4 separate regions of the Homo sapiens genome follow, and regions 1, 3 and 4 are each linked to region 2. The links are contacts of gene promoters, found by promoter capture Hi-C in blood cells and fetal thymus (Javierre and others, 2016). All regions are on one chromosome and are shown on one strand. The core of a region is centred on a gene start or on the middle of the fragment in contact, and the rest is flanking DNA. Distances in the headings are between cores, read along the strand shown.

Region 1 (4,674 bases), core at 195-2,694, 65 kb before region 2:
TGCGGCGCTGAAGGCTGCCGAGACCCAGCCACATCCCCCACAAGCCAGCAGCCCGGCAGAAAATTACATAAAATGCAGCGCTTCGCCGAGGGGGTGCGAGTCGGGGGAGCAGCGCGCAGCTGCGGCTGACGGCTCGGCTGGATCCATCCAAGCATGGACAGGAAAACGGGACTGTGGGGAGAGGGTGGTGCAGACGGGCCGCAGACCCTCCTTAGGAAGAGAAGCCGGAAACTAGGGAGTCATGTGCAGTTAGAATCCTCTTGGAAGACTAGTAGGATGTGAGGTTGGAGAGGTGGACGACGACCAGAAAATTCCCTTGTCTTGCCAGGCTTCTGACCTAACTATGAGTTTCCTCCGCGCATCCAGCCTGCCCTGCTCTGGCCCCTAAAGTACAGCAGTAACACTCAGTGGTGTCCCTGCCTTCCTGGAATGCGCGTTAACAATTCTGATTCTTACTCATGGCAATAACCTACACACCACATAGACGTTAAATGTGGTTCGGGTCAGACTCTAGGGCAGGACTCACTGCCTGCACCTTGTCTTGGCTCCACCAGCTTGACCTTGAGCAAGTCACAACCTGTGGGTCTCAGTGTTCCTTACTAGTAAACCGTAGGTAATTCCTCACTAGTAAACAGATAATATTTGTGCCTGTCTCAAAGTTGTGAGGATTTAATGAATTTGTGTTCCTGGTATACAGTAAGCACCGTGTACAAGTTGGCTTTTATTTACACCAAATAGCAAAAGCTTTTATTTATTTTGAGACAGGGTCTTGCTCTCAGGCTGGAGTGCAGTGGCGCGATCTCACCTCACTGCAACCTCTGCCTCCCGGGTTCCAGCGATTCTTGTGCCTCAGCCTCCCGAGTAGCTGGAATTGCAGGCAAGCGCCACCACGTCCGGCTAATTTTTATATTTTTATATTTTTAGTAGGGACGGGTTTCACCATGTTGGCCAGGCTGGTCTCGAACTCCTGGCCTCAGGTGATCCACCCGCCTTGGCCTCCCGAAGTGCTGGGGATTACATGCATGAGCCACTGCGCCTGGCCAAAAGCTTTTATATATATTTATAAATGGACATAGATATCTGTGAGGCTGTCGGGTATGGTGGCTCACGCCTGTAGTCCCAAGCACTTTGGGAGGCCGAGGCAGGCGGATCACGAGGTCAGGAAATCAAGACCATCCTGGCCAACATAGTGAAACCCCCGTCTCTACTAAAAATAAAAAAATTAGCCAGGTGTGGCAGTGCGCGCCTCTAGTCCCAGCTACTTGAGAGGCTGAGGCAGGAGAATCGCTTGAACCCCGGAGGCGGAGGCTGCAGTGAACCGAGATCGCGCCACTGCACTCCAGCCTGGGCGACAAGGCGAGACTCCGTCTCCAAAAAAAAAAAGCTATTTGTGAGGTAACAATCTAAATATGTTTGAGCTAGTGCAACAGTAAGTTAACTCCTTACATCTGTTAATTCAGCAAGCACTAACAAGTGATGGAGATTAAAAAAAAAAAAGGAATGAGCCACAGCTTTGCCATCAAAGACTTCAGCGTCTCTTAGGGGAAACAGATGTAAGCAAATAATGACACGATTTAGGGCAGAGATATATCAGAAGATCAGCTTGCCTGTGCGTGGGGGAAATGTTAGGGAAGTTTGGGTTATCCAGGCTACAATGTGTGGAAAGGGATTTCGCACATACAAACAACAGAGGGCCAAGACATGAATATGATTTCTAGTTTAAGGAACCAGAAGTTTAGTATGACTACTTGGGGTGACTTTGGAGAGGATGGGACCATGATGTCAGAAGTTGAAATTGGGAGCAATTGAAAGATTCTAAGCCAGGAAGGAATCATTTTCTATTTTAGGATGGATTTGAGAAAGTTAAGACCAAGAGGCACTTAACATACCCCTGAAATAGAAAAGAAATGATGCATGAGGGCGTTGGTCATAAGGATAGAGAAGAGACAAGATCAGAAGTATGTAGGACAGTAAATCTGCAAGATGAAGTTGGGGTGAAATAAAAACCACAAAAATCTCGTTTGGGGCTTTCCAAGGTTGTGCCAACAAATAAGGTAGGGCATACAGGCTGGTAGCTAGATTGTTAAGATGAGTAACTGCTTGCAACAACTTGATTATTTGAAGTTACAGTGCATAGATGACTGTGGGACAGTGATCTGATGCTGCAAGATTACCAGTGTTACCAAATGACAAAGACATCAAGAGGGGAGAATTTAAACTTTCAATGATTGACCAAGGAGTTGTGCATTTCATTTTGTAACAAGGGCGTAAGATTAAAAACCCCCTAAAGATATTACAAGAATTTATATCCCAAGCTCTGGTCATTGTCCAAAATTATCGTTCTGATACTGGCACCATGATAACCATTACAAGAGATCAGAAATGATGACACGAGCCCAGACACAGTGGCTCACACCTGTAATCCCAGCGCTTTGGGAGGCCAAGGCCAGAGGACTGCTTGAGCCCAGGAGTTCGAGACCAGCCTGAGTAACATAGTAAGACCCCATCTCTACAAGAAATAAAAAATAGCCAGGGGTGGTAGGTGTGTACCTGTAGCCCCAGCTACTTAAGAGGCTGAGGCATGAGAATGGCTAGAGCCGGGGGGGATTGACGCTGCAGTGACCCATGATCACAGCACTGCTCTCCAGCCTAGGCAGCAGAGCAAGACCCTGTCTCAAAAAAAAGACACGATGACATGAGTTTTCCTTTACAAGAGCCTTGGGAGTCCTTTTACAACTTACTATCACATTCATGACAAATATTCTTTCTAAATTTTGAATAGGAACAAAGATTTCTAACAAGAGAGAGAATATCTTCCCGATTCGACTCCCATATGTCAAGAGACTCAGATGTGACTCATATTTGCCTGCCAGGAGGAGGAAAAAGAAATACACTGTCCAGGAGCAACTCCTTAGTGGGTACCCACCAGAAGTGGTCTCCAAACAAGGCAAGAATCTGTGTATTCCTCACACAATTCAATCCCAGCCATTCCATATGTACACACTGAGGTTTGCTTTTGGGTAAATGGAAATAACTTTAGAGTTTCACCACAAGAAAGCTACATGGTAAGCAAGTGTTGGAAAATCTTAACAGTGGGTGACATTAAGCTATAGGGTTGCATTTTCAAGGGAACCAACATCTTATGCCGTGGCAAGCAACTCCTGACTGGATAAACAGCTCTTAGATGTCATTGATAGGCTCAAGCTGAGGCGCAGAGGAAGTATGGCCCAAGGGCATATAGCTGGTAAGTGGTGGCTGGACTGCAATCCCAAGTAGACAGTATTATCTTAGACTGAAACACAAACACTGCAAAGTCCATTCTCCCTTGGCCACGTTTCACAAAAGAGGAAATGGGACCTGAAAATTAGGAGACTTACACAGGATTGCACAGCTAGCGCATCAGAGAGCTGACATTTGGAAGCCCACGTGATAAGTACGTGTGTAATCTCATTTACCGCAGGCAACTCTTAGATTCTGTTATTCCCATTTTAAGAATGAGGAAACTAGTCTGGGCGTAGTGGCTCTCGTCTGTGCTATCAGCACTTTGGAAGACCAAGGCAGGAGGACCGCATGAGCCCAGGAGTTCAAGGCTGGTCTTAAACATAGTGAGACCCTCTCTCTACAAAAAATTAAAAACTTAGTCCATGCATGGTGTTGGGTGACTGTAGTTTGAGCTATTTGGGGAGACTGAGGCAGGAGATCACTTGAGCCCAGGAGTTTAAGGCTGTCACAAGCTATGGTGGTACCACTGTGCTCCAGCCTGGGCAACAGAGCGAGACCCTGTCTCAAAAAAGAATGAGGAACTAAGGCTAATAAAGTTTAAGAATTTGCCTAAAAATGGAAAGCTTTTTTTTTTAATCTGTCTGTGAATGAGAGGAAAATAAAATTCAGTAAGGCCTTCCAAATCACCACTTAGGAAGCCCAACAACGTTAAATATGAATGCATATCTAGAAAATGGTGACCAAAGAAGTCTGGTTCCAACAATTCACATAAGAGAGTGGTCAAAATGGAATGAATTAGTAGATTAGAGTCCATTTCAAAAGACTCTGAAAAATGAGATAAGGAAATCTGTGAGCAATGGAGAACATGCAAAACAACTCAGATACCTAATCCAAAGCCTAATATTAGTTTTAATGCAAATTTGTGTTAACTGAATTTAGGTTCATTCAGGAGGCTGTGCTGATGTTGATGTACACACAACATCAGCATACCTCTGAAGGGCAGGAAGTAGATGACGTTGGACCTCCAGAACACTATACCACAAACTGGATCAGCACCTAGAGGTGAAATTAAATGCACACAAAAACCTGGATCACTTCATTCATTCATTCAACAAAATATGTGTTAAAAGTCTTCCCTGGCTCCTGGGCTGTTTTTTGTTTTGTTTTTTTCCGCTTTAGAGACAGTATGTCATTCTGTCACACAGGCAGGAGTGCAGTGGTACAGTCAGAGCTCACTGCAGCCTCGCAGTCCTACCGCTGAGTACTTGAGACTACAGGTGTGCACCACCATGCCTGGCTAATTTTTTACTGTTTTTTAGAGATGCGGGTCTTGCTCTGTTGCCCAGGCTGGTCTCAAACTCCTGGCCTCAAGTGATCCTCCCGCCTTGATCTTCCTGGACTTCTGTTGGATAAATTCCCTAGGAAGAGGAGAGTTAACACTTCGATAGATTT
Region 2 (4,798 bases), core at 973-3,472:
CCACCACGCCCGACTAATTTTTGTATTTTTAGGAGAGATGGGTTTTCACCATGTTGATCAGGCTGGTCTCGAACTCCTGACCTCAGGTGATCTACCCACCTCGGCCTCCCAAAATACTGGGATTACAGGCATGAGCCACCATGCTTGGCCTGTCATCACTTTTCAAGAGGCAGTTTCTCCTTCTAAATCCATCTCAATCTCCAGTGAGAGAGGAGCCAGGAGCCTGGCTGCCGTGCTGCGTGGTCCATCCAGGTGGAAGGGAAGGCTATGGAGGAGAGCCAGACTCCTGCTCTTTGTTTTGGTCAGTTCAGAAGTCACTTAACCAATAAGTCCTTTCAGGGAAGGAATTCACTCTACCACTACAGAATAGTTTTGCTTCACATGTTTTCTTGACACAGAAATTTGTAGAACCACAGCCTCTTTCTTTTCTTTTCTTTTTCTTTTTCTCTTTCTTTCTCTCTTTCTTTCCTTTCCTTTCCCTTTCTTTCTTTCTTTCTTTCTTTCTTTCTTTCTTTCTTTCTTTCTTTCTTTCTTTCTTTCTTTCTTTCTGTCTCTCTCTCTCTCTTTCTTTCTTTCTTTCTTTCTTTTTCTCTTTCTCTTTCTCTCTTTCTTTCTTTCTTGACAGAGTTTCACTCTTGTCACCCAGGCTGGAGTGCAATGGTGCGATCTCAACTCACTGCAACCTCCGCCTCCCAGGTTCAAGCGATTCTCCTTCTTCTGCCTCCTGAGTAGCTGGGACTACAGGTGCCCGCCACCACACCCAGCTAATTTTTGTATTTTTAATAGAGACAGGGTTTTGCCATGTTGGTCAGGCTGGTCTCGAACTCCTGACCTTAGGTGGTCCACCTGCCTCGGCTTCCCAGAGTGCTGGGATTACAGGCTTGAGCCACTGTGCCCAGCCGCATAATTATTTTAACTGGTTCATAATAATGAGCCAGAGTTGTGCTCTGTCGCCCAGGCTGGAGTCCAGTGGTGTGATCACAGCTCACTGCAGCCTCGACCTCCCAGGCTCAGGCGATCCTCTCATCTCAGCCTCCCTAGTAGCTGAGGCCACAGGCACGTGCCACAGTGCCCGGCTAATTTTTATATTTTATTGTAGAGATGGGGATCTCACTATGTTACCCAGACTGGTTTCAAACTCCTGGGCCTGTGATCCACCTTGCTTGGATCTCCCAAAGTGCTGGGATTACAGGCGTGAGCCAGTGTACCCGCAATCTTGCATCATTTTGATTAGGAATTAGTCCTCAGAAACCAGTCATGGCAGCATGGCAGAAGAGACAGTTGAACATGTCTTGCTTTATCCACTAGGCATACTTTTTTTTTTTTTTGAGACGGAGTCTCGCTCTGTCGCCAGAGCTGGAGTGCAGTGGCGCGATCTTGGCTAACTGCAACCTCCGTCTTCCGGGTTCAAGCGATTCTCCTGCCTCAGCCTCCGGAGTAGCTGGGACTACAGGCGCGCGCCACCACGCCCGGCTAATTTTTGTATCGTAGAGACGGGGTTTCACCATGTTGGCCAGGCTGGTTTCAATCTCTTGACCTCATGACCTGCCCGCCTCGGCCTCTCAAAGTGCTGGGATTACAGGCGTGAGCCACCTCGCCCTGCTCACTTTGCATACATTTGAGTTGGGATTCTTTCGCTGCAAAACCTGATCTTCACCTAGATTCAGGTTAATTTATTAACTATTACTAATGATTGTGAACAGTGCATTCTATTAAACTTATTTTTCAGGTATGCAGTTGTGTAAATTGGTTAGACTTACTACAGTGTTTAGATCTGGAACGAAAACGTAAGGCATTTTCCATGTAACTGCTTGGAACACGACAGTTACCTGCTACTATAAAAACGGTAGTTTTCTATTTATGGAAGAGTTTTTCTTAAACTTATCTAGAATTAAAAGTTAATTTAAAGAAAGTACTAATTATGACAAAAGCAGGGAGTCGTTAGCACTTGAAACCAGAGTTTGGTACTATGAGAAGGTTTTTAATTTTAAAAAGAAGGAAAAAAAGAAACACGGACGTCAGAAAACTGGTTCAGTAGGGATGGGTGCTAGAAGGCTACGGAACCGCCGAAGGCCCAGGAGAAACCCGGAACGTGTTAACCGCTCCAACTGGAGCCGGACGAAAAAACGGCCCCGCCTCCCGCGAGGGCGACGCAGTTCGCAGGCGCGTCGGCGCGCCTGTTCTGGGGCGCTTGGCTTCACCGCGCAGGCGCGGTCGCCGCTGTTGTTGTGGTCCCCATGGAGCTGCCGTAGCGGACCCAGCACAGCCAGGAGCGTCCGGGATGAGCTCAGCCGCGGCCGACCACTGGGCGTGGTTGCTGGTGCTCAGCTTCGTGTTTGGATGCAATGTTCTTAGGATCCTCCTCCCGTCCTTCTCATCCTTCGTAAGTGGCTGCCTGGCCTCCCAAGGGCCGGTGGGGATGCCGCCCCAGTCCCCCGGCGGGTCTGGCGTAGGTACAGGGGTCTCAACTGGGCGACTGAAGGCCGTAGTAGCGTCTTGGTTGGTCCGTAAGCTTTTTTGAGATAGTTGTTAGCGTCTAAAAGGTACGACGCTTTACCCCAAAATCAGACTTTCTGGGTTCTAGGGGGTTGGGAGAAACACCGGGCAACCCTGGACTCTTCTGGCTGTGGGTGGCGGCGGCGAACCTCACACTGGGAGTTCCTAGTGCCCCGCTGTCAGCCTCGTTTCCGTTAATCCTGGTTCCTAGAGGCATTCGAGCAGCCCTCGGCCAGGGTTTCCCAGAGGCCTGGCGGGCGAAGTCAGCTGTTCCAGGTCCCGGAGAGATGGATCCTCGCGTCCAGGAGCCCACATTCTTGGGGTGGGTAGGGTGGGAGACAGGTGTAGAGAGAATCTCAGTACAGCGTGATGCCTTCAGTATCCAAGGGAGCAACCAGGTTGGGGAACACTCTCTTTCTGCCAGGTAGTGAGTACATTACCTCTGTCTCACGGCTGCTGGGAGAGGCGAGTATTATCATCCCACCCTCCTTTACCTCCCGGAGGAGTCTGGCTCAAGAGAATTTAGTGGTGGCACTAAGTCATCCACCTAGTGACTGGAGGTGGAGATTTGATTGCCTTTTGGAGCAGGGATAGGGATTTGGTGGCAAATTGGACAGGGCGTGGTGGGGTGTGGCCATGGAAGGCGGGGGTACCTTGGGAACTGTCCCCGAGAATGAGCGCCCTCCGTATGCCCACAGCAGAAATGAGGAGCTGTTGGGCAAAGGCGGAGTCCTCAAAGATTGGGCGCATTCGTTTCAGCGTTGTCTTGGAAAACAGTTCTTGCTTTTCTCTCCTAAGATAAATTGGTAGTAGTGGAGGATATTTTATTCCACCAGTATTCATTGAGTGCCTGTTTTGTGCAAAACTCTATTCTTACTCTCTCAATTGTCCTACTGTCTGCATTGTCCTGAGATATAGGGAATTCTCTTTTAACCCCTGAGTCTCCTTCAGAATCTTTCCTGATGCTATCCAGTCTTTAAGATGATGTCTCAGGCATTGCATAAAAGACTCCTGATGAGCTGGCCCATGCTCATCTTCTTGTTTTTAATTGTAAAATACACATAATATGAAGTTTATCATCTTTATCATTTTTAGGTGTACAGTTCAGTGGCATTAAGTACATTCACATTTTTGTGCAACCATTATCCCAGAACTTTATTATTATTATTTTAAGACAGGGTCTGGCTCTGTGCAGTGGTGTAATCTCGACTCATTGCAACCTCTGCCTCCCAGGTTCAAGTGATCCTCCCACCTCAGCCTCCCAAGTAGCTGGGACCACAGGCATGCACCACCACGCCCAGGTATTTTTTTGTATTTTTAGTAGAGACAGAGCTTTGCCATGTTGGCCAGGCTGGTCTCAAACTCCTGACCTCAAGCCATCCACCCATCCTGGCCTCCCAAAGTGCTGGGATTACAGGTGTGAACCACTGCACGTGGCCCCGCTCCCAGAACATTTTCTTTTTTTTTTTTTTTGAGACAGAGTCTCACTCTGTTGCCTATGTAGGAGTGCAGTGGCCTGATCTTGGCTCACTGCAGCCTCCACCTTCCAGGTTCAAGCGATTCTCCTGCCTCAGCCTCCCAGGTAGCTGTGATTACCAGTACCTGCCACCATGCCCGGCTAATTTTTGTATTTTTAATAGAGACGGGGTCTCACTATGTTGCCCAGGTTGGTCTCAAACTCCTGACCTCAAGTGATCTGTGCTCCTTGGCCTCCCAAAGTGCTAGGATTACAGGCGTGTGCCACCACGCCTGGCCCCATCCCAGAACTTTTTTTATCTCCTCTAACCGAAACTCTCGCACTCATTAAACAACAACTTTCCATTCCTACCTCTCCCTGGCAATCACCATTGTACTTTCTGCCTCTGTGAATTTGACTACTCTTGGGACCTCATATAAGTGGAATCAGACAGTATTTTTCCTTTTGTGACTGGCTTCTTTTCACTCAGCATAATATCCTTAAGGTTCATCCATGGTGTATCATGAGTCAGGATTTCCTCCCCTTTTAAGGCTGAATAGTATCCCATTGTATGTATAGGCCACATTTTGTTTATTAGTTCATCTGTCTATGGACACTTGGGTTGTTTCTACCTTTTGACTATTGTAGATAATGCTAAAATGTTTACAAATATCTCTTTGAGTCTCTGCTTTCAGTTTTTCTGGACATATACCCAGCAGTGGAATTCCTGAATCTATGGTAATTCTATGTTGAATTTTTTTGAAAAACCACCATACTGTTTTCCATAGCAGCCACACCATTCGACATTCTCACCAGCAGTGCAGAAGGGTTCCAGTTGCTCCATAT
Region 3 (5,130 bases), core at 1,022-3,521, 98 kb before region 2:
TATCTTTGAGAGCCTTTGGCCATCGGGCTAAACTAAAAAGTAAAACATATACAATTCAGTTTCCAGAACTTCTACTTAAGTTACAGTTTAATAGTCTTGCAAACTTAACTTCAATTGACAGTTTCAGGAAATAAACACATGAAATCCAAAATATAGGTAATACTACCGTAGTGAAAAAATCATAACCTCTCCACATTCATTTATATGTAATATGATCTCAATAAGCCTATTTTCAGAATGAACAAGACTGGCCAGAAAAACTTTAACAAGGTGGAGATCTAGTCCTACTAGATATTAAAGCATATCACAGAGTGTTAATAATTAAAATGATCAGACAAAACAGGGTACACTGATAGAATGACCAATGGAAAAAATACAATCCAAAACTAGACCCTATTCAACCTGGGAAAGCTGACTGAAAAACTGGAAGGAAAAATGGGAGAAAACATGAATCCTAATCTAAGACTTAAGTACAATTAAGGTATTATCTCAAATCTGTTGGGCGAACAATGGATCACTGCATAAATGGTATTACAATTGTGCAGTAATCTGGAAAAAAACTAAGTCCATTCTTCAGACTACATCAGGATACATTCGAAATGGGTCAATGATTTAAATATTTTGAAAACAAAGCCATAAAATAAGGAAACACAGGAACTATACTGCAGCGCAACTTCAGAATAAGGCTAACATCTGTACTTAATAAAATACCAAAAGTGCTAAACAAGCAAGCTACAGAAAGGAAGATGAACTAGCTAGAGACATCTAGGAAGGATTAAATAGTAGGAAAATGCAAGGAAAACAAACACACACTAAGCAAAGGAATAATATCAGCACAAGTTCAAAAGCGAGGGGGAATATGGTATATGATAGAAACAAAGATCTATATGAACAAAGTGTTCATTTCTCAAAGTCATGCGGCAATGGGGTAAATGAATAGAGAATCTGGATGTAATCAAAGCAGCTTAAAGGGTAACTGTACTTTTCAAGTAAAAACACCAGAAGCAGCCAAACGATTTGTCTTACAGCAATATACAGTATTGATTGAAAAAGAAGAGGCAAGATGTAATAAAAAGCCAAGAGGGAACCCAGTTAATCTAAGAAGCAAGAAGCTTAACTGGAATACAGCTCCACCCTTCTCCCCCTAGAATGGGGAGGAAAGACCAAAAGAGAGGAGCATCAAAACTTGCTGACTCGCCCGAGTGCTGTGGCTCATGCCTGTAATCCCAGCGCTTTGTGGGGCCGAGGAGTGAGAATTGCTTGAGTCCAAGAGTTCAAGACCAGCCTAGGTGACATGGCGAAACCCTGTCTCTACAAAAAAATACAAAATTGTCCAGGCGTGATGACACACGGCTGTGATCCCAGTACTATGGGAGGCCAAGGCAGGCAGATCACTTGAGGTCAGAAGTTTGAGGCCAGCCTGGCCAACATGGTGAAACACCACCTCTACTAAAAATACAAAAATTAGCCGGGCATGATGTTGGATGCCTGTAACATAAAAAGTAGGCAGGAGTGGTGGCGGATGCCCATAATCCCAGCTACTCAGGAGGCTGAGGCAGGAGAATCGCTTGAATCCGGGAGGCAAAGGTTGCAGCAGGCTGAGATGGCGCCACTGCACTCCAGCCGGGACAACACAGCAAGACTCCTTCACCTACCAAAAAAAATATATATATATATGTATGTATGTATACATGTATATATATACGTATACATACATATACATGTGTATATATGTAGACATATATGTATACATATAAATACATGTATATAAATATGTATATATACACATATGTCAACATATACGTCTATGTATAAGTATATGTATGTACATATGTATATATACACGTATACGTATATATGGACATATACACATACGTATATAAACATATATATAAAATAAAATAAAAAATTAGCCAGGCATGGTGGCGCATGCTTGTAGTCCCAGCTACCCAGGAGGCTGAGGTTGCAAAGAGCCAAGATCACACCACTGCATTTCAGCCTGGGCAACAGAGTGAGACTCTGTCTCAAAAAGCAAACAAACTTGCTGACTCAAGAAACATTCAAGACAAAGAAGGAGCTTAGAAAAGAAAGACTAATAGTGCCATTAACAGAAAGCAAAGTAAGGAAGAAATTATGGATTTTTTTTAATGTTGAAAGTGATTGTTTATATCTAAGTAGATATGTTCCAGAATGTGGCCTAACATTGAGCTTTGCAGGCTATCTCATTAAAAGTAATGAGAAAAAGTAGTATAATTAAAGTTATATTAGTAGTTGGATATTTTTGTTAATTAAAATTGAAGATTCTTTTATTCCTTTGCTTTCTTAATAAACTTGCTTTCACTTTAAAAAAAATTTAAACACCTTCCACACTGAATTGCTAATTGGACAAAAAAATTTTTTTTTAATTAAAACATCAGAGTAAAACTCGCAACCTTGCAGAGTACTTTGAGAATTCTAGAGGCCAAGCACAGTTGCTCATGCCTGTAATCCCAGCACTTTGGAAGGCCAAGGCAGGTGGATCACCTGAGGTCAGGAGTTCAAGACCAGCCTGATCAACATGGTGAAACCCTGTCTCTACTAAAAATACAAAAAATTAGCCATGCATGGTGGTGGGCGCCTGTAATCCCAACTACTCGGGAGGCTGAGGCAGGAGAATCGCTTGAACCTGGAAGGCAGAGATTTCAGTGAGCTGAGATCGCACCACTGTACTCCAGCCTGGGCAACAAGAGCGGAACTCCGTCACAAAAAAAAAAAAAAAAAGGAATTCTAAACCTAACTGTCCATGAAAGAATATGTTTAAGTCACCTGTTCTAAATCAAATTTCCAGACAGATAAGCAATTTGTAGCTATTTCTGTCCCACTTATATCTTCATCTATTCATGGACTGATATATACTGTTTTCTTTATAACAGCTCTAAAACATTTTTATATCTCCAGCATGGCTAAACAATTCTTTGCTCTTCTTTCGCTGTCCGTGCTTATATAATTCTCTTTTAAATGAGCTTGATTGGCTGGCACAGTTCCATAAAAACAAAATCATTGGAATTTCAAATGTAAATACGCTGATTTTATAGCATAATCAGGAAAGATCTGACATATTTACAATACTGAATCTTCTGATTCAGGAACATGGTAGAGGTATTTTCACTTACTTAGACTATTTCCTTCCCCAACCCAAGACTCCGGTCAGTATTTTTAAGACCTTTCTTCATAAACATATTTCACATTTCCTGTTAAATTCATTCCTATGTGTTTGAGGGGTTTTGTTGCTATTACAAATTATACTCTTCTTCCATTGTATTTATTACTTCTTTATTGCTGGTGTACAATAAAGTTCTGGTTTTAAGACATGGGTCCTATATATATTTAACCATCGTATTAAGCTCTCAGCAGTTCTAACAAGTTTTAACAGAATTCACTAATGAAGCCTCTAAGCTTGAAGTTTTAAGAGTTGCGATTTGTTTTTGTTTTTTTAGTGTCCAACAGGTATTTTTAACTTCTGGGGGCTTCCTTTTACTGTTTCTAAATAGCAACATTTCATCAATTGCAGTATCACTGACATACAACCATGTTTTGTTATGCCCCCTCAAGGCCAGTCGCCAATGACTATAATATGTATTTCTGGATATTAAAAATAGTCTTGCTTTTTTTTTCTAAGATGGATTAGCTAAATCCTGCATAAAAGAAACAGTATGAACTATGATTTCTAAAAGTCTTCTTTGGCCTAGGATTTTAGGATTCCGTGCTACAATCTCATGTGTCTACTTCCAAAGTCCAAAGTATGCTTGAAATCTACACATTTTGAGTGACTACCTAGTATTTACCACAGGCTCATGAGCTTAAGAACGTCTACTTTTACAACTTGTTCAGTGGTAAAATAAGCACTCTTTAATATATGCTGATCCTCTCTTTTGCTATGAAAGAATGTATTATTTATTTTCTTTGGATATATAGCCAATCTTTTTTTGTGAAGAACCTCCAGCTGGGTAGGGTGGCTCATGCTTATAAAGCCCAGTGCTTTGGGAGGCCAATGGAGGAGGATTGCTTGAGGCCAGAAGTTCAAGACCAGCTTGTGAAACATAGCAAGACACTGTCTCTACAAAAAATTAAGAACTAACTAGATGACGTGGCACACACCTATAGTCCCAGCTACTCAGAAGGCTGAGGCAGGAGGATGACTTGAGCTCATAAGTTTGAGGCCAAGCGAGCTATGATTACACCACTGCACTCCAGCCTGGGCAACAGAGAGAGAACCTGCCTCTGGGGGAGGCGGGAGAACCTCCATACTGTTTCCCATAATAGTTGTACTAATTTACATTCTCACCAAAAGTGCATAAGAGTTCCCCTTTCTCCACATCCTTCCCAACATTTGTTATCCTTTGTCTTTTTGAGAACAGCCATTCTGACTGGGGTGAGGTAGTATCTCACTGTGGTTTTGATTTGCATTTTCCTGATAATTAGTGATGTTAAGCATATTTTCATATATCTGTCAGCCATTTGTATGTGTTCTTTTTAGAAATGTCTACGCAGGTCTTTTGCCCATTTTTTAACTGAATTTTTTTTCTATTGAGTTGAGTTCCTTATATGTTCTGGATATTAACTCTTTGTCAGATGCATAAAGTTTACAAGTACTTTCTCCTATTCTTCAGGTTGTCTCTTCGATCTATATTGTTTGTTTCCTTTGCTGTGCAGAAGCTTTGTAGTTTGATGTAATCCCATTTGTCTGTTTTTGCTTTTGTTCCCTATGCTTTTGGGTGTATATCCAAAGGGAAATGAAATCAGTATATTGAAGAGATAATTGCACTCCCATGTTTACTGCAGTGCCATTCACAATAGTCAAGACATGAATCAACCTAAACACCCATCTACAGATGAATGAACAAAGAAAATGCCGTGTGTCCGTGTATACACACACACAAAATGGAACATTATAAACAGAATATTCTTCCGTCGTTTGTGGTAATATGGATGAACCTAAAGGCCATTATGTTAAGTGAAATAGCAAGGCACAGAAAGGCAAACACTGTGTAATTTCACCCTTGAATTTTAAAAGTTGATTTCACAGAAGCAGAGAATAGAACAGTGGTTACCTATGGCTGGGGAGTATGGGGGAAGGGGGGGACCATGAGA
Region 4 (4,648 bases), core at 386-2,885, 81 kb before region 2:
ATGGATTCATTACCACTATCATGACCAAAGAGCAGTTACAAGGCATCCTCCTGGGGTACCAGTACAAAACAAACAGAGAATACGCCCCTACCCTAGGGCAGCTTGCTGAAGACTCTTCTAAGGTCTGGCCAGTTCTAAATCACTGCTCATCACAAAACAACGACATGGAGCTTGACACAAGTAAAGAAAACAAAGGAAAACAGGCTACCAATTAACTACCATATAACCAGCTAAAATAGAATAATTACAAAGTGAATAGGGACACAGAAGAGGAAGAATATAAACAGTGTCCTGATTAGTGCCACAGGGTGACATGGCTAGAGCACTAAGAAACAACTAAAGCTAACAAACCAGTCTGGCACGGAACTAAGAGGGAGGGGTGTTCTTTCTCAGTTAAGCTTTATACTGGTGGTGCAGCTAAGAGTAGCATCACATCAGCAATAGCTCGTAATAAAAAATAATCATGGGATGAACTTGATGTATACTCAGCATCAGAAGAACCAACAATCTTTGCCCATTAGCAGTTTAGCCACATGTACACATATATTATATCACATACATATACTTAGTCTAAGTCATATATACCAAGCTAACAGAAAAAGAATAGCAATTTCAAACATTTTGCTAGCACATAACTTGGCAAAAAAATTAAATTAGTAAAAAAAGAACCATGCAGTTTTACATTTGTGGTGCTTGTTTTCAAGCTGCTACCAAATTTAGAAAATCACTTCCCTTTATAACAAAGGGCTTTCAGAAGCTAAATATCAAATGAAATACCTCTAGCATTTAAAGAGTTTATTAGACACATACAATTACATTCAATGAAGTTATGAGTGAGCTACAAAATGGAAAATTAAGAACTCACATTGATAAAACCTCAAACAACATCTCAGAATAAATTCAAGCTTTTTAGCTTAACATCTATATCTTTATCAACTTTTTAATGCAGAAGGACCCATTAAACACTTATGTAATAAAATTCAATGTTCTATGCTAAATGCAGAGAATTTTATAGTCCACAGCATGATTTATAGTTACATTATCACCTTTCTTCCACAATGCTTACATTACTTCACAATTATAATAATTATTAGGCTATTAATACAAAGCAGAACACTTCTTCAAATTAAGGTACCTTTTGCTGTACGTAGCAAAGACTGCCTTCCTGCACCAAGTAAAGAAGTGACTCTTGAAATACTGGGTGGAATTTCTTTATCCAACATAGGACCGATGCGCTGGCAGATTTGCAAAAGATGATCAGGAGCCACATGCTTATTGGACAAGACCTAGTTGGAGAGCAAGTTTTAATGACAACAGCTTAATAATATCAAAAACTATTAAATACTTAGGGATAAGTCTGGCAAAATGTGAAAAACATACACTGAAAACTGTAAAACATGCTGAGAGAAATTAAAGACGACTTAAATAAACAATAAGCTGATCTACAGATTTGAGCTACAGATTCAAACCTGTAACACTCAAAACTTCAGCAACATTTTTTTTTGTAGAAATTGACAATTTTGTTCTAAAATTTATATGCAAATGACCTGGAAAAGCACCTCTGAAAAAGAAAAAAGGTTGCAGAGCTAACAAAACTTAATCTCAAGACTTGAAATCAAGACTTTACTCAAAATTGCACTAACTGGGCCAGGGATGGTGACTCACACCTGTAATCTCAGCACTTTGTAAGGCCAAGGCAGGTGGATCACTTGAGATCAGGAGTTCGAGACCAGCCTGACCAACATGGTGAAACCCCATCTTTACTAAAAATACAAAATTAGCCAGGCATGGTGGTGCACACCTGTAGTCCCAGCTACTTGGGAGGCTGAGGCAGGAGAATCACTTGAACCCAGGAGGTGGAGGTTGCAGTGAGCTGGGATCGTGCCATTGCACTCTAGCCTGGGCAACAAGAAAAAAATATATATACATATTACGCTAACTCGCCTGTCTCAAAAAAAAAAAAATATATATATATGCTAACTGGCCTGTAAGTGAAGCATACATCTTTGAGAGAGATGTTAAGATATCAAAGATCCTATAAGACATCATTTAGTATCTAAATCATGGATAACTGGTTCTCAACAACATACTAGGCAGTAAAAAACATTAATTCTTTCAGTAAGTACTGACAGCCTATTAGGTGCCAGGAGCCATAAGTGGATATACCTATGGATTACTATAGACAAATATATGTCTGTTATAATTTTAAATGAAAAATAATCATTTATTTACTCCAACGTAAGAGATAAAAGATATTGCTCTCATCTCGACAATGAGAATAGGCTGGATAAACTTTAAAAAATGTATAAACCCATCACAGCTGAAGAAACAAAGAAAAATCTACATTAACTAATCCCACAAAGTACAAGCTTTTCTGGGAACAGAAAAGGGACTCAGGCTGGGCACGGTGGCTCACGCTTGTAATCCCAACACTTTGGGAGGCCGAGGCAGGTGGATCACTAGAGGTCAAGAGCTCGAGACCAGCCTGGCGGAAATGGTGACATCCCATCTCTACTAAAAAAAAAAAAACACAAAAATTAGCTGGGTGTGGTGGTAGGCGCCTGTAATCCCAGCTACTTAGGAGGCTGAGGTATGAAATCACTTGAACCTGGGAGGCGGAGGTTGCAGTGAACCAAGATCATGCTATAGCACTCCACAGCCTGGGCGACAAGAGTGAAACTCCATCTAAAAAAAATAAAGTTAAAGAAAAGGGACTCATAGCTGCTTACACCCCTAGCAGAGAGGCAGGAAGAACTGACCTCAGAAAAGAATAAGAAAAAACCACTCAAACCTCTAACAAACTTAATGGCTACTTGTGGCCGGCATGACTGATTAGAATCCTAAGGCGCCTCAGTTACAGTGAGTCTGCACACCTACCACAATTTTTTCCCATAGGCCTTCACCAACTGCATAGGGCCCAAACACTAAAGCCAGGGCAGCCCTGGAAGAAATGCACTGTAGTGGCCCTCCTAAGGCTAGAGATAGGACAACAGGGTGGAGAATGATCTCTTCTGACATGGAAAGCCTAGAGCAGGACGGCAAGGCAGAGCGAACTCTGTAGCAACCTAAAAAGTTGGCAGTCAGGTACAAAGTAGAAAAAGATCTCACAAAGTTTGGAAAGGTGGCAACTCCAGTGTAAAAAATAAGACATCTCAGAAATTTCATGAGGGCCAAATGTCAAACTCTGCTGGAAGGGAAAGTATTGATGCCACCCTCAAAGCATGGAAAGCCAGTGATTTACTGAATGTAACAAAGCTCAGAGATGATCAATTACAAATTAGATTGACCCTGTCTCACACACTAACTGCTTGAGAAAAGAGCACATCTTTACCAGAGGTAAATACATTACTGCAGCCTCTACTCTTTACACAAAAAGTTACAGCATACCTCAAAAAAATGATGAGATACACAACAAAGCTAGATATATGACCCATGGTCAAGAGGGGAAATGGTCAATAGAAGCAGACCTAGAGATGGCCCAGATGTTCAAAAATGCTTAGCTGTTATTTCTTCAAACTACTTCTCCCCTCTATCCTTTCCACTTGGGACTTTAATTACACATTAAACTATTTGATATCATACCACTTATTCAAAAAGCTCAGAGAACCCAAGAAAAATAAATGCAAAGAAAACCCACTTTGGGAGGCCAAGGCGGGCAGATTACGAGGTCAGGAGATCGAGACCATCCTGGCTAACACGGTAAAACCCTGTCTCTACTAAAAATACAAAAAAATTAGCCAGGCGTGGTGGCAGGTGCCTGTAGTCCCAGCTGCTGGGGAGACTGAGGCAGGAGAATGGCGTGAACCCAGGAGGCAGAGCTTGCAGTGAGCCAAGATGGCGCCACTGCACTCCAGCCTGGGTGACAGAGCAAGGCTCCCACAAAAAAAAAAAAAAAAGGAAACCACCTAGGTGCACATGTGAAAGGCAGCTTCTGACATGCCCGCTAATAGTGCCCAAACCTCTTGGTAGTCAGACTTGTGAAATCCCCTCCTCATTTACTTCAGAAAACAGTAACATTGAGAGGATACTACTTCTATGATTAGGTTACAATTGTGACTTCTGTCTTGCTAAGACTCTACTGCCTCGTCAGCTTTCATCTTTTGATAACTCAAGCTATCACACTGGAAAGACCAAAAGGGCGAGGAACTGAGAGTGGCCAATAGTCAGGTAGAAACTGAGGCCCTCAGTCAAACAACCCTCCAGGAACCGAATCCTGCCAAAACTACATGAGCTTGGAAGCCTATTCCTCCCGTCAAGCCTTCAGCTAAAACCCCAGTTCTGCCAATATTTTGACTGCACCTTCAGAGAAAAGGAGACAGGGAACCCATCTGAGCTGTGTCTGGACCGCTGACTTACAGAAACTGGCAGATAACAACAAATTAGTGTAGTTTTAAGCTGCTAAATTTTGGGGTAATTTGTTATACAGCAATAGATCATGACTACAGGACAACATAGTAAAACTGCTGAAAATCAAAGACAAAATAAAAATCCTAAAAGCAACCAGACCAAAAACAACATTATTTTCAAAGGAGCAATAAGACTGCTAAATTTCCAACATTAGGAAGGCATAAGGCAGTAGAACATCTTTACTGTGCCGAAAAAAAAAAAAAAAGGACTATGAATCAGAATTCCATAGCTACTGAAGTCA

The links. The method cuts DNA at HindIII sites, captures the fragments that hold promoters and counts their contacts. A CHiCAGO score of 5 or more calls a contact.
Region 1: a contact is called between the fragment with the promoter of BRWD1-AS1 here and the fragment with the promoter of GET1 in region 2, in 17 of 17 cell types (monocytes, total CD8 T cells, M0 macrophages and 14 more). The highest score is 21.8, in monocytes.
Region 3: a contact is called between a fragment that was not itself captured here and the fragment with the promoter of GET1 in region 2, in 3 of 17 cell types (total CD8 T cells, naive CD4 T cells and non-activated CD4 T cells). The highest score is 9.0, in total CD8 T cells.
Region 4: a contact is called between a fragment that was not itself captured here and the fragment with the promoter of GET1 in region 2, in 2 of 17 cell types (total CD8 T cells and naive CD8 T cells). The highest score is 6.9, in total CD8 T cells.

The regions. Positions count from the first base shown.
Region 1 is chr21:39,314,263-39,318,936 of GRCh38, forward strand. It overlaps BRWD1-AS1 (BRWD1 antisense RNA 1), which reads left to right and starts at 1,445. Exons shown (of 3, transcript NR_046655.1): 1 at 1,445-1,553; 2 at 2,783-2,947. BRWD1-AS2 (BRWD1 antisense RNA 2) reads left to right here. Exons shown (of 1, transcript NR_111942.1): 1 at 1-653. It also overlaps a transcript of BRWD1 not described here. RefSeq lists enhancers at 163-858, 859-1,553. The HindIII fragment of the contact is 2,798 bases long and covers 1,046-3,843 here.
Region 2 is chr21:39,378,104-39,382,901 of GRCh38, forward strand. GET1 (guided entry of tail-anchored proteins factor 1) reads left to right here and starts at 2,223. Exons shown (of 5, transcript NM_004627.6): 1 at 2,223-2,383. The coding sequence starts at 2,282. It overlaps GET1-SH3BGR (GET1-SH3BGR readthrough), which reads left to right and starts at 2,223. Exons shown (of 14, transcript NR_146618.2): 1 at 2,223-2,383. The HindIII fragment of the contact is 3,691 bases long and covers 1-2,510 here.
Region 3 is chr21:39,280,217-39,285,346 of GRCh38, forward strand. It overlaps BRWD1 (bromodomain and WD repeat domain containing 1), which reads right to left. Exons shown (of 41, transcript NM_033656.4): 9 at 1-32. Among named protein-coding and RNA genes, the nearest start is that of BRWD1, 31 kb to the right of the region's middle. The HindIII fragment of the contact is 2,323 bases long and covers 1,111-3,433 here.
Region 4 is chr21:39,297,297-39,301,944 of GRCh38, forward strand. BRWD1 (bromodomain and WD repeat domain containing 1) reads right to left here. Exons shown (of 41, transcript NM_033656.4): 5 at 1,136-1,286. Among named protein-coding and RNA genes, the nearest start is that of BRWD1, 14 kb to the right of the region's middle. The HindIII fragment of the contact is 1,464 bases long and covers 904-2,367 here.